Linked DNA regions of Homo sapiens: region 2 is linked to region 1. Evidence: promoter capture Hi-C in 16 types of primary human blood cells and fetal thymus (Javierre and others, 2016). All regions are on one chromosome and are shown on one strand. Each heading gives the region's core, a stretch centred on a gene start or on the middle of the fragment in contact. The rest is flanking DNA. Distances are from core to core; before and after follow the strand shown.

Evidence for each region. Contacts are between HindIII fragments. The CHiCAGO score rates a contact against its expected background, and 5 or more counts as called.
Region 2: a fragment that was not itself captured here is called in contact with the fragment with the promoter of METTL17 in region 1 in 1 of 17 cell types (monocytes); the score reaches 5.3 in monocytes.

Annotation. Positions count from the first base shown.
Region 1 is chr14:20,984,519-20,991,520 of GRCh38, reverse strand. METTL17 (methyltransferase like 17) reads right to left here and starts at 1,541. Exons shown (of 14, transcript NM_022734.3): 1 at 1,444-1,541; 2 at 1,138-1,291; 3 at 923-1,057. The coding sequence starts at 1,518. RefSeq lists an enhancer at 965-1,014 and a silencer at 1,765-1,894. The HindIII fragment of the contact is 15,587 bases long and covers 1-7,002 here.
Region 2 is chr14:20,657,858-20,665,258 of GRCh38, reverse strand. It overlaps TRY-GTA7-1 (tRNA-Tyr (anticodon GTA) 7-1), which reads left to right and starts at 5,208; the gene lies at 5,208-5,301. It overlaps LOC124903281 (a long non-coding RNA gene), which reads right to left. Exons shown (of 2, transcript XR_007064059.1): 2 at 2,846-7,401. TRY-GTA5-4 (tRNA-Tyr (anticodon GTA) 5-4) reads left to right here and starts at 1,974; the gene lies at 1,974-2,067. RefSeq lists silencers at 1,600-1,669, 3,618-3,837 and an enhancer at 1,780-2,059. The HindIII fragment of the contact is 1,387 bases long and covers 4,213-5,599 here.

The DNA.
Region 1 (7,002 bases), core at 292-2,791:
GGCCAAGGACATTATTTTTTGGATTTCTTCACTTCTCCAAAATTTAAGGTTTTGATGATCTCCACTATTCCTATGGAGAGGAAAGAAATCTGAAAATCTACGTCTCATGACTGTTCAGTTCAGTACTATTTAGCAAGTATCTACTGAACTACTGTGAGCCAGGTACTGTGAGGTGTGCAGGGAATGCAAGATGAATAAATGGTAGTGTCAAGGAGCTCACAATCATGAAACTAACTTGATGAATTATATTTACCCTCTTATCCCAGAAGAGGGTTTCAGTACTGGGCAGGGACCATCCAGGGACTTTATTTTACCTGAATAAAAACTTAGAAGGTCCTAATCCAGTGGACTTGCAGAAAAAAATAAATATCTAGATTTTAACAGTATATTGGTAGCCAGGCGCGGTGGTTCATGCCTGTAATCCTAGCACTTTGGGAGGCCAAGGTGGGCGGATCACCTGAGGTCAGAAGTTCGAGACTAGCCTGGCCACCATGATGAAACCCCGTCTCTACTAAAAATACAAGTAGCCGGGTGTGGTGGTGCACGCCTGTAATCCCAGCTACTGAAGAGGCTGAGGCAGGAAAATCACTTAAACCCGGGAGGCGGAGGTTGCAGTGAGCCGAGATCGAGCATTACACTTCAGCCTGGGTGACAGAGCAAGACTCTGTCTCAAAGCAAAAACAAAACAACAAAACAAACAAACAAACAAAAAACAGTATACTGGGACATTCTGACCTTTACCTAAGCAATCTCTAAAATAATCTACCTTCTTTTAGTAAGGCATCATTGTAACAACTGCTGCTCTGGTTAGAAAGTCAAATAAGAGACTTCAGTATCTGAGAGATTGTAGAATTATTTCTTACTCTTCATTTCTAACCGATATTTCAATCTCGCCCACTTTTTAATTATTCTTAAGTCCTACCTGGGTTTTCCAGGAATTTTTTCTCAAGATGCCTAGCCCGTCTTTGCAACTCCTCTGGCTCTACAGGCAAATGTCTGCTCCAGAGATAACTGGTCAGTGTTTGCACCTGATTCTCCATAGTGGGCCCAGCGCTCCCTATGGGCCAAAGACGAAAAGCGGAATCACTTGCATGTAGGTCCAGTCCCGTTTCTTCTCGCTTTCCCGCCGTTACTCACCAAGTAGCAATAACTGGGCACCGTTAGCCAGTGCCTGTGGCAGCCGCACGTGCGGCAGCTTTAGGATGCCAGGGTGCTGGCGATGAGGCCTCTTCTGCAGGAAACCGGACTTGTTATCTACCTGGGTCACTCCGGGTACTAAGGCGGCGAGCGCCTGCAGGCAGAGAAAGGTAGGTTGATTTCCTGGCAGAAAGGAAAGTTGCTGGCAATCGCTAGGGCGGGGGCTGCCAGGAGCGCTCCTCCTCTGCGCGGAGATGTCTCTGCAGATCCAGAGTCTCTCCGACAGCAGGGAATGTAGGCACTCACCCGGGCCTGGGGAGCCACTCCAAGGCCGGGGCACCATCTTCCTAATGTCAGTAGACACTTCAGTGCCGCCGCCATGGCTCCGGAGGCGAACCGGAAACGGAAATACAGGTGCCTGTGACCCTCAGTCCCAACGCCGCAAGGAGCAGCCTTCGCAGAACTTCTCCCGACAGTTTCAGCCAACGAGAAGAGCGAGTGTTTGCCAGCAGCCAATAAGCAATGGTTATATAAATAATCCTTGAGGCAGAAACCGTGTTTGGGCCGACTTGAAGGCTGCGTTGGGCCTGGTCACCGGCCCCAGAAATCAAGAGGGTGGGGTGGGGCGGGGCGGGACGGGACGGGGGCGGGATGGGGTTGGGTGTGAGCGCGCCAGCAAAGACTGTTTCTGGGAGTACTGACTTCCTGTGTTCTTTGCATTCCTCCGCGGAGAACTCTGAGTCTTGGGTTGTTTCCCTGTGTGAAAAAGGGAGACTGCAGTAACGGAAAGAAGAGAAAAATCAGATTTAAGCGACTGAAGAAAACAGAAATTAATAGTTAAATGATTATTGAATAGTTAATAGTTTGATAAATATTAAACCTAGTTAATAGGTTTATTTATTTTTTTACATTTGTTAATTTCTCTTCAAATGAGACCAGTCTTCTTAGTAAGCTAACATAACACTTACTGAGAACACCTATGTGCTAGGTACTTCAGGGAAAAGGACTGATCCCCACTTCACAGAAAACATGGTTCTGACGGGGACCCTCCTGTGTCTGCTGCTACGTCAGAGTGTTTCCCCCAGGCCCAGGACTTAGACAGTAGCCGTCTGATTACCTGAGGTGCAGAATCTCAGGTGGGTCCAGCCACTATTGTGACGTGATAATATAGCATAGGGGAATGGTCTCCAGAGTCTGCAAGCTCATCAACACCTTCATTCACTAGAGCATCAGAAGGATAAATGGCATATGCAAGGCGATATCTACTTTCGGGACCTGACAGTGGACAACTGCTACCTCAGTCTCCGAACACTTGAGCTCACCCAGTGTGTGATTTCTGTGGGCTCCTGGCCCCCTAATTTCCGTTACAGGTTTAGGATGTTCTCCCAGCACATCCACTTGACCTGTGTGTGGAACCAGCCAGTTCATCTGGAGGGCTAGACTCCTGAGTCATCAGGCTAGGGCCTGATGATCTCAGGCCCCAGCGCCCTAATTGGACTTTCCTTCTGTGGTTCTCTACCTTATTCGACTTCTTCCCCAAATCTGCAGACCTCACCGACTGCAGCCTGCCAGCTCTCTCAGGGCTCCTCATCTCGGGGTGAGGTGGGGTGAGGAGACATGGGTGGACAGGGGGAGAAGGGCCGCTCTGCCTCTTCCAGGCGGAACCGCCCTTCCTGTAGATGAATGCATGGCCCACTGACACATCCTAGGCTGACACTTGCCTCTTTTCCAGCTTTTCCTCAGTCCTCCTTTTACCTGGGAATCTTTCCTGGGTGCTCAAAAGGGTCACCACAGTGACCTCTACCCCTCCAGTGAGAATGCTCACGTTCAGAGTCGTGATTCTGTGTGTGCCCTGGGCTGAGGACTCTGCCCTAGAGATATCTGAGGAATGGAACCATTAAATTAAATTGATACCTGTTGATATCTCTCCAGACTATTAAGTCCACAACCCAGGCCGTCTCAAAGGTTCTTACTCCTGAAGCCATCCCTCATTTTTTGTGCGAGTCTTGCCCAAATGCCAGGGTGCTGGCGATGGGGCCTATTCTTGCCCAAATGCACAGATAATTCTGAAGATTGGGCCATACTAGATGTGTGTGTTGGAAGATCTGCCAAGATTCTACTGTCAGCTAGTCAGAGCTCTTGAGTAAATCCCTCAGCATCTTGTCCTTATAATTCTATTCATATAGCTGAGATCATGTCACGGCTCCAAAAGCCACCATCCAAATTATGGGCATTTTCTGTCCATAAAACTTTGTGAAATGATTCCTTGTAGGAAATTTATCCAAGGGAATCACCAGATCTCAAGTACCTTCATAGTAGTTCAACTCCAACGCATAAGCCACCGCGCCTATGTAGGGGCTCCACACAATGTTTGCACTCCACACAATGTTTGCGCTCCAGGATAAGAGAAGGAGAGAAGGGAGAAAGGGATGCAACTTTCACCTCAATGGGAGTGAATGAATGGCCTCTTCAAACATGACCTGTCTGGGATTCTGAGTCATTCTAGTTCCCCTGCAACAGTAGGAGCCATCTTGACTTTATCTCTGAATCTCAGTGTCTGTCTTATTCTGTGCTTGGGTTTTAGTAGGTTACCAGTGTTTGCAGAAGTGACCCTGCCTGATTTGCGGTGGACTGTGAAGCTAAGTGTCTACTCTTTTCCCTCCGTAGGCCACTGGGAGGACAGATGATGCTCAAGTTTCCCTTTTTCCTCTTGGTCTTATGTCACTTACTGCTTTCTTTTCTTTTTTTTCTAGCCTATTGTTTTCTTTTTAAGACAGGTGACATTCTGTCACCCAGGTTGGAGTGCAGTGGTGAGAACATGGCTCACTGCAGCCACACATCCTAGGTTCAAGCGATTCTCCTACGTCAGCCTCCTGAATAGCTGGGACGACAGGTGTATGCTACTGTGCCTGGCTAATTTTTTATTTTTTTCGAGAGATGGGGTCTTTCCACGTTGCCCAGGCTGGTCTTGACCTCCTGAGCTCAAGCGATCCTCTGGCCTTGGCCTCCCAAAGTGTTGGGATTACAGGCGTAAGCCACCGCGCCTGCCTTATTCTATTGTTTCCTTTCTCTCCCACCCTCCCACTTCTTTTCTTCCTCCCTTCTTTTATTCCTTTTTTTTCACAGCACAAGATATCTTCTAATGTAAATATTTGATTCTTTATGATAAATTAAAAAAAGACTGGGGTGCAAATCAGAATCAATCACATTTTTTTCTTACTCCTTGGGGGCTCATTTGACTCTTGAGTGGGAAAGAGGCAGATCCCAGGTGAAGCCTCAGTCTCTTGGCCTAAGGCAGGGAGAAGCATGAGTCAGATCAACATGATGATTCATCTGAGTCTCAACCATGAAGAAATTCACGGATTGTACAGGGTTTTCTGGTGCAGTCAGCTTTCTTGTGTTGTGACTTGGCTGATTAACTCATATTCAAGGCCAGAACTACTGTTGCTGTTGAGACTAATCCAATTACAAAGTATTCTGCTGCGGGGGAGGGATCTTCCAATTGGATCTGATCTCCTTTGGCAAAAATCTATGTTGAGGAAAGCAAGGAGGTTCTGGAGGGATTATAGATTTTGAAAACTCTGGCTCGGGCAGACCCAGCATGGCTTCCTACAGATATAGGATGGGGGATCACCACAGAGCAGTGTTAGTCTTGGCATGGGATGGCATGAAAGGATCGCTGATATCCTCAGAAGATGAATGGTGGTCACACAGGAGCTTCTTTGGAGGTGCATTGTGGACTCTTAACACATGGATAAAGTCTTAGAGGAAAATCCAAGGATTGGACACCCATTGGGGGTCTCGTATATCTCTCCTGAGGGACTGAGACCCTGAAATAGGGACCGGAATGGCCAGGGCAGTGAGAGAATGTAGAAGTCTTTCTATTCTCAGTTCATGTTTCTCAAGAAAATCTAAAAGTTATCCCATTAAAATGTTCTGGGTTGGGGGCCTCCATTGTTTAACAACTAGGTCAATGGTTTCCAGTTCAGACTCGGGAGAGGAATCCCAAGAAGGAAACTCTGGCTTATCATCTACTTCTCCAAGCCTTCTAGAAATACCATTTCTAATGTACTGTCCTGCAACAGGGACCAATTCAAGACAGAACTTTCCAGAAGGATCTGTTTGTGTTTTTGAGAACTACTGGGAATGGCCAGCACAGCCACCTGGCCTAGGAGACTTGCTATTATACAGAAAATGAAGAAAAAATGTGAGAAGAAAGGGATGAAGAAAGAGAAGATAAAGAGGAAAGAAAGATATATAATGGGGAAAGACATTTATCCATGATAGGGAGTTTATTTTTCGTTCTTGAGTTGGTGGAATTCTTTACTGACCATGTTAGATGTGCCACACTCTGTGTTAAGGGCTAAAGCTAGGAGAGGAGGAGACTGTGTTATGGGAAGTGGTATTTTTTTTCTTGTTCAAATCTTGTTCCAAATTTCTACTTTGAATTTGGTGGAGCTGTTTTTGTTCAAGCTCTGATAGTACTGTGGGCATCAGACATCTATGAAATCTTCTACAAGCCAGTTCAGCTTCCTCTCCCTCCTCCTCCTCCTCCTCTTTCTTCTTCCTCTTCCTCTTCTTCTTCTTTTTTTTTTAAGACAGAGTTTCACTCTTGTTGCCCAGGCTGTAGTGCAATGGCATGATCTCGGCTCACTGCAACCTCTGCCTTCTGGGTTCAAGCGATTCTCCTGCCTCAGCCTCCTGAATAGCTGGGTTTACAGGCGTGCGCCACTATACCCAGCTAATTTTTTTTTTGTATTTTTAGTAGAGATGGGATTTTTCTATGTTGGCCAGGCTGGTCTCAAACTCCTGACCTCAGGCGATCCACCTGCCTCGGCCTCTTAAAGTGCTAGGATTACAGGTGTGAGCCACCATGCCTGGCCTCTTTCTTCTTTTTAATCCTACTCCAGCACTCCAAAGAGCCATGTTGTATAAAGGGGAGCCTAAAACCCAAAACAAGTAGAGCAAGGGAGGGCCATTCCAAGGAGGAACCCAGCTTCTTTTTTGTTTTTAGCAACACCCCTGTTTCTCTCTTCATACAAACATTCTCCATCTCATCACACCTCTATGCTGGAAACTTGAGTCTTTGGATTTCTTGCTGTTCAAAATTCTGCAGTGAATTAAAGCAGTCTGTTCAGTTCCTCCTGAAGTGATTCCACTGCTCCATATGCATTGGATTTATCTTCTCTAGATTTTAGTCTTGACCTGATTAATGCCTCCATTCCATGTCAACTAACATAAACCTAAAAAAAAAAAAACACAGATCTTTATGTAAAATCTGTAAAAGAATGAATATCTACTTTGCCCTCCTTCCACAGGGAACCCGGCCCATGTAGGCCCTGGGGCCACAGAATGCGGGCAACTGCTGTTCAAGGACCAGCATGAGGGGGCCAGGGCCAGGGTGCTGCTTTTGGGAATGCTGTACACTTCAGCCATTGTGGCTTTTGTGTTGTATAAGTGTTGCAGATGCAGAGATGGCTGGGGGTCTGGGTGCCCTGAGTCTGCATCTCTCATGGGGGCACCATAGTACTGAGAGCAAGATACAGTTTCCGCTGTCTGTAAAATGAAGATAATAGTTGATTGGCCTCCAACATTATAGAGTAATTTTAAGGATTCAGCGAGGTAAGGCTGAATGTGGAAGGCACGTGGTAAACTGTAAATGAATAATGACCATCACATTTAATTTTCCTACAATCTGATAAAGAGTAGCCACTTGCTTGAGGTCACCCAGAGCAGCAACTGGTGGAGCTGGACACTCAGCTAGTGTTCATACTACTAAAGTGGGGCCAACTGTGGCACAAGGGGTTGATTGCTGCAACCATAGTGTTTCTAGAGTTCAAGACATCAAGTGGTCTCATGTTCTCC
Region 2 (7,401 bases), core at 3,657-6,156, 330 kb after region 1:
CCAGAATGGTAGATCCACTGACAGCTTGCACCGTGCACCTGGAAAAGCTGCAGACCCTCAAGGCCAGCCCAGGAAAGCAGCTTGGAGAGAGGCTGTATCCTTCAAAGACACAGGGGTGGAGCTGCCTAAGACCATGGGAATCCACCTCTTGCATCAGTGTGACCTGGATGTGAGACCTGAAGTCAAAGGAGATCATTTTGAAGCTTTAAAATTTGACAGCCCTGCTGGATTTCGGACTTGCATGGGCTCTGTAACTCCTTCGTTTTGGCAAATTTCTCCCATTTGGAATGGCTGTATTTATCCAATACCTGTACCCCCATTGTGTCTAGGAAGTAACGAGCTTGCTTTTGATTTTACAGGCTCATAGGCAGAAGGGACTTTCCTTGTCTTAGATAAGACTTTGGACTGTGGACTTTTGGGTTAACGCTGAAATGAGTTAAGACTTTGGGGGACTGTTGGGAAGGCATAATTGGTGTTCAAATGTGAGGACATGAGATTTAGAGAGGCCAGGGGCGGAATGATACTGTTTGGCTGTGTCCCTACCCAAATCTCAACTTGAATTGTATCTCCCAAAATTCCCACGTGTTGTGAGAGGGACCAGGGGGAGATAATTGAATCACGGGGGCCAGTTTTTCCAGTGCTATTCTCAGGATAGTGAATAAGTCTCACAAGATCTGATGGGTTTACCAGGGGTTTCCGCTTTTGCTTCTCTCTTATTTTCTCCTGCCTCTGCCATGTAAGAAGTGCCTTGGACAGGAGGGGTGGCTCACGCCTGTAATCCCAGCACTTTGGGAGGCCGAGGAGGGTGGATCACCTAAGGTCGGGAGTTCAAGACCAGCCTGGCCAACATGGAGAAACCCCAAGTCTTTACTAAAAATGCAAAATTAGCCGGGCGTGGCGGCGCATACCTGTAATCCCAGCTACTCCGGAGGCTGAGGCGGCAGAATCGCTTGAACCTGGGAGGCGGAGGTGGCGGTGAGCTGAGATCGCGCCATTTCACTCCAGCCTGGGCAACGAGAGTGAAACTCCATCTCAAAAAAAAAAAAAAAAAAAGAAGAAGAAGAAGAAGAAGAAGAAGAAGTGCCTTTCACCTCCAGCCATGATTCTGAGGCCCCCTAGGCATGTGGAACTGTGAGTCCAATTAAACCTCTTTTTCATCCCAGTCTCGGGTATGTCTTTATCCGCAGCATGAAAACGGACTAATATACTTGCCCTACTTCAGAAAGAGGAAGCCTCTGGGGGAGAAAAAAAAAAGAGTTCTTGGTCAGTTTGCAGAGGAGGGAAGCCAAGCCCCAGTTGGGCGCTGGGGAGGAAGGAGGGTATCACAGTGCATCTGCAAGCCCTGGGCGAGTTCTTCTCACCTAGTCCCATTTGTTCTCTCTCTCACTTCTAGCACACTTGAATGCGCCAAAAAGCAAGCATAGGACACTGTAGGGAAAAGGGCGGAGGCACATCGGGAGAAGGGGCATGTGTGTGTTGGCCGGGAAGGGAGTAGGAAGGCCAGAGTTTTAGGAAAGGGCTGCTTAAGGACTTTCAGCAGACCCTGCAGCTGGTCTGCGGATAGCGGCCGCCCACCCAGAAGCTTTCCGAGTTCTTCTTTCCTCCTCCTGCAACCCCTGTCCCACAGGATCCACCCATCCACCTAGCCCATCCCTCTGACCGAGCCCTCTCACCCTCTTGTTTTCTTTCGCTGAGGGCTGTCATCCTCACTTGTAAAAACAGAGATGCACAGGTGGAGGAAGGCCACAGGCGAGAGCCTCCCGTCCTGGATTGTGGCTATCAGCGCTCTGGGACGCGAGGAAACCACACTCGGAGGATTTGCTCCACCCTGAGAGGTGCGCGGTGGCAACCAGCGCAAGGTTCTCTTCTAAGGCGGGTTCCAATCAACTCTAAGTGTGTTGACTCCAGCGTTCCAAGGACTTGGCTTCCTCCATTTGCGGAAAGTCCAGTGATCCAGCTCTTGCAGCGTGCACCCTTCGATAGCTCAGCTGGTAGAGCGGAGGACTGTAGATTGTACAGACATTTGCGGACATCCTTAGGTCGCTGGTTCGATTCCGGCTCGAAGGAAGTGCCCGATGCTTTTGCATGCAATGCCACCTGGTGCCTGGTCAAACGCCCTGCAGCCTCCAACTAGTATCCACCCACACCCTCCCAGTCAAAACCCAGAGAAACCTTTCCTGATCACCTGGTTTCCACACCTGTGCTGTGGCCAGGAAACACGCCCGTAAGCCCACTCATTCTTCCCACAGTCCAGGGACAGGTACTCTTCAACGCAAAGGGCCCCTTGCTTCTGCTTTGTGACCCAGTCAGCCCCTCTCCCCAACCCCCTTCGCACCCCCACCATCCAGAGCTCTTTCACTTTTATCCACAGACTGCTCTGGGTGCTGAGGGCCATGGACTCTAGCAACATTGTGTGCTCACCATTGATAGATCTCTCGATCTATTAAACCAGTGGGCCCACCATCAACTCCTAGAAGATCAAGCCTGCTGGAAGAGAAAAGGGTCAGAGACAACTGTGACATCCTCAGGAAAAAAAAAAAATGCTCTCTATGCTGTCTCTCTCTCATCTCCTTCTCCAGGTCTCTAGCAAATGCTTTTCTATCTGAGCATTCTCTCTCTCTCTCTCTGTTTTTCTCTGACTCTAGTTCTCTCATTATCTTTTGCTTGTAATGTATAGATGTATACAGACAGAAAATGTTCATTTCTGTTTTGTTTTGTCTATTTGTGGGAGAGAGTTGCCGCCCTGAGATTTTCTTAATAAATAGGGCTTCCACTGGCTCCATAATATTTTCCTTCAGGTTGAGAACAAAAATGTGCCCCCTTCCCACATACACCAAGCCTCACATTTCCCGAGCCTTCGCACCTTTTAATGTTGCTACAGTAAACTTTGGGCTCCTGCTGGAAGAAGAAAGATACCTTCCACTCAGTTCAAAGTCTGCAAAAACACCTATACCAAGTGTCTTACTGGTTGTGAAGGTGTGAGAGAGGGAAAGAGAGTATAAAAGGGCAGACTTGGAAAGAACTTCAGTGACCCGGGAGGGTTGGGGGCTGTTGGGTCCCTGGCAGGGAGCAGAATTGAAGCTTGGGTGGCAGCTGCCACCTTGCAGAGGTACACAAGTTCACCTCCTTAGGCCACTGGCTTGTTGCATCTGAGCAGCATGCTCACTTTTATGTGGGGGCTCTGCAGGCACAGCTGGAAGGTTGCGCCTTCTACAAGAGGAAGATGGCTGGCACAATCTGAGAGCATGAAGCAGGAAATGGGCTTGGCTTTCACCAACTGGGCTTCACCTCTGGGAAGATGAAGTGGGTTCATCAAAGTATGAGCCAGAGAGGAACCACAATGAGTGTCCCCTGGTCCCATCCTATGCTCTGGGGAAAAAAAAAAAAATCTTCAGACGCTTGATATACAGATGAAAATTATCACAGAGAGCACTGCAAGCAAAACAGTGATGGAAATTTGGTTCTCAGAGGCCTTCTGGGAACCCGGTGACCACTCTCCCCTACCCGATGGGCATAACTGCTTTTTCACTCTGCGTCTCAAACTAGAGAGTACACATGTCTTCCCCTCCTAGAAAGCAGATCCTGTTCTCCCCCTACGGCCTATTCCCTACCTCTTCTCTGTTGTATCAGCCTTTCCTGCTTCCCACTGCTGATGGAAAGGGGCAGAGCTGTGGACTCACCAGTGCCCCAGCAACATTCTGTAGCTCTGCAGCCCCAGAGAGATCCCAGCCTCGAATGACATTGCTGCAGAGATCAGCAAACAGAAACCAAAGTAGAACCTTTGGTCTATACTGGATATGTCCTTGATAAGATGTGGCGGTACCAGGTTTTTTGGAACCTAGGCTTGGTGCTTTGAGGGAAAAAACAGAGGTGGGCCATTGAGTGGTGTTTGGTCATCAGCAAAAGTGTGGGTGATCCCTGACCATGACTTTTCCCCTATAAACTCAATAAAGGGTGGGTCTTTTGGGTTCAGCTTGCTGTGCCACCAGTAACTGTCTCACTGTTTGTGTGGGTGATGAGTGGTCTTGGGATAGTGGACACACACCATATGGGATATGAACCCTTTGTAACAATTTGTGGCCTAGGTAAGGGGTCCAAAGCTCACCTGGTTTCCTCTATCAGCCCCCTTTTCTTTCCAGGGGCCCCTACTTTAGAAAGCAGCAGCCTCTGGGAAAGGATTCTTGGTCAGTAGCAGAGGACTGGATCGAAGCTTTTATGCTGGCCTTTGGGGTTAGAGGTAATGGGTATCACATGGTGATCTGCGAGCCCCTGGCCCTACTCTCTCCCCACATATCTTTTTTTTTTTTTTTTTAAATTGTCTCTGTCGCCCAGGCTGGAGTGCAGTGGCAAGATCACAGCTTACTGTAGCCTCGAACACCCGGGCTCAGATGATCCTCCCACCTCAGCCTGCTGAGTGGCCAGGACCACAGGTGCAGGCCACCACACCCGGATACTTTTTAGAAGTTTTTCTGTAGAGATGGCTTCTCCCTATGTTGCCCAGGCTGATCTCGAACTCCTGCGCTCAAGCGCCCCTTTCGCCTCGGCCCGCTAAATTGTTGGAATTGCGGTGCGAGCCACCATACCTGGCCTCCACCTATCCTCCTGCATTTCCTCCCTCTCTTCCCATTATGCCTCAATACTCCAAAAAGTGAGCATAGGACACTGGGTAGAAGGGCCGCGCACATCGAGAGGAGTGTGTTTGAGGTGGTGGGAAGTAGAGGACAGGCTGTTAGGGCAGTGCCCCCTTATGGTCTTCCATCAGACCCTGACGCTAGGCTGGGGTTGGAAGCTGCTTACACCACGCCCATGCTGGTTCTCCTCTTTTCCTCCTCCAGTGTCCTCTCCTCCACTGGACCCACCCATCAGTCTCACCAAGCCCTCTGCCCTCGCCGTCTTACCTCATTTTCCCTCTGGCCACTAAGGGCTGTCATCTTCACAAGCAGAAAGAGCGATGCAGAGGGAGAGGAAGGCCACAGGTGAGAGCTCCTCCTCGTGGATCGTGGCTATCGGCGCCCCAGAGACGCCAGGCACCCCCCCGGGCCCAGAGGATTTGCTCTGTCCGGAAAGGGGCGCAGTGGAGACCGGCGCAGAGTTCTCTTCCAAGTCGGGTTCCAATTAACTCAACGAGTATTGGATCTCCGGTGGTCCAGGGACTTGGCTTCCTCCATTTGCAGAAAGTCCAGTGACCCAGCCTTAACAGTGTGCATCCTTCGATAGCTCAGCTGGTAGAGCGGAGGACTGTAGACTGCGGAAACGTTTGTGGACATCCTTAGGTCGCTGGTTCAATTCCGGCTCGAAGGAAGCGCCTGACTCTTTTGCGCACAATGCTGCCTGGCTGCACCTGTTCCTCGTCAAAGACCTTGCAGCCTTCCAGTCATAACTACACTTTCCCCAGGAAAACCCAGCAAAATCCTGCCTTTCCTGATCACAGGCCTGGGAGCCTATTCATTCTTCCCGAATCCTCATAGTCTTCAGCTCAAAACAGTGCCCCTTGCCTTGTGACCCAGCCAGACCCCAATTCGTGCCCCCACCATCCTACGCCTTTCCACTTGTATTTACAAACTGCCCACCCATCCCCCTGTCCCAGACCCGTCAAGCTTCATCTTTCCTGAGCTTTCACAAGTTTTTATGTTGCTACAGCCAAGTTTGGCTACTGCTGGAAAAGTAAGGATATCTAATACTCAGTTCAAAGTCTGCAAAAACACCTGCACCAAGTGCCCTGCCTACTTGGGAGGGTAAGGGAAAGGGAAAGCGAGTACCAAAGAAGTGCAGACTTCAAAACAGCTTCAGTGATCCTGGAGAGTTAGGGGCTATTGGGTCCATGGCAGGGAGCAGACGTAAAGCTTGAGTGACAGCTGCCTTTATACAGAGGCACGTGGATTTGCCTCCTTAGACAGGCCACTGCCTCGTGGGTCTAAGCAGTTCGGAGCGTTTGCTCTGGGACCTAGAGGCACAGTTGGGTTCTCCTACTCCCAAGAAAAATGTGCTGAGGCCCAGTCAGAGAGAATGGAGTCAGAAATGGACTGGGCTTTATCAATCAAGTGAAGCTTCAACTCTGGGGAGTTGGAGTGGGTTTGGTGGATATGTGGCAGAGAAGAAAGCCAATGAGCATCCTTTGGTCTCATCACATAATCTTGGAAAAAGCTTCCCGATGTTTGATGTAAAGATGCAACCTATCAGAGAGTACTCCAAACTGAATGGCCCAGGAAAGCATGGCCTTCTGAAGCCTGCTTAGGACTGGCTTGCCCCATCTACTACCTGCTGGGTCCACATGAACTGTTTAATTGTGCCTCTCAAACTGGATACTGCACATATTACTGCACATATCTTTTTCACATGGAAAGCAGCTCCTGGTATCCCGCCACCGCCTATTCTCCCCCACGTCACCCCGACTGTGTCAACCTTTCTTCTTTGGTGTCACCAGTGCTCTGGGATGCTTCTATGGCTCTGGAGGCACAGAGAGACCCCAGCTCCAATGACACCAAAGGCAAAGACCAGCTAACAAAGAGGGACCAAAGGTAGCACCTCAGGCCTTCATTGGATATATTCCTGATGGGGCGTGGAGTCACCAGAGCCCTTGGAACCTTTGCTCAGTGCTTTGGGGAAAAACCAGAGGTGAGCCAACAAATGGGTTTGGTGGCTGGCACAAGTGAAGGTGAGCCCAGGTGCCCACTCTTCCCAGCTGTGCCATGGCAGAGAGTAGCAGGATGTCTGTGAGGATCTGATCCTCACTCTCGGAGATCCACACCCACTTGCCATAAGACAGGAAGTGGACATAAACTCAATGGAGGCTAGGTCCCGTGGGTGTGGCTTCCTGTCCTCCTCTAGGTGTTCTGCTGCAGAGAGGGTGCCTCAGTGGTCTCGGAGTGGTGGGCACACACCAGATGGGATCTGAAACTTTTGTCAAAGATGTGGGTTCAGGATAAGGAGTCCAAAGCTCACACTTCTGTCCTCTACCTGGCTTCTTGTTTTTCAAAGAAACCCACAGAACTTTGCCCTACTTCAGAAATCAGCAGCTTCTGATTGGAATTCTCAGCCTGTTTGCAGAAGAGGGTATCTCACATGTGCCTCTGCAAGCCTGGGAGAGATTTCCTCACCTCACTTCCCAGTGCACCTCAATGCACCAAAATGTGAGCATAGACTACTATGAGGAGAAGGGCGGGGCACCTGGGGAGGAGGGCCCTGTGTGTGTGGTAGGGGAGGGAGTAGAGAGGCCAGACTATTATGGAAGCGCCCATTAGAGACCTGCACCAGACTCTGAGGTTGGGTTGGAGTTGTCAGCTGCCTATCCAGCGCCCATTAGGGTTCTCCTCTTTTCCTCCTCCAGCGTTCTCTCCCCGACTAGACCCACCCAACCACCTCGCCAATCCCTGTGCCCTCGCTGACTCACCTTCTCATTTT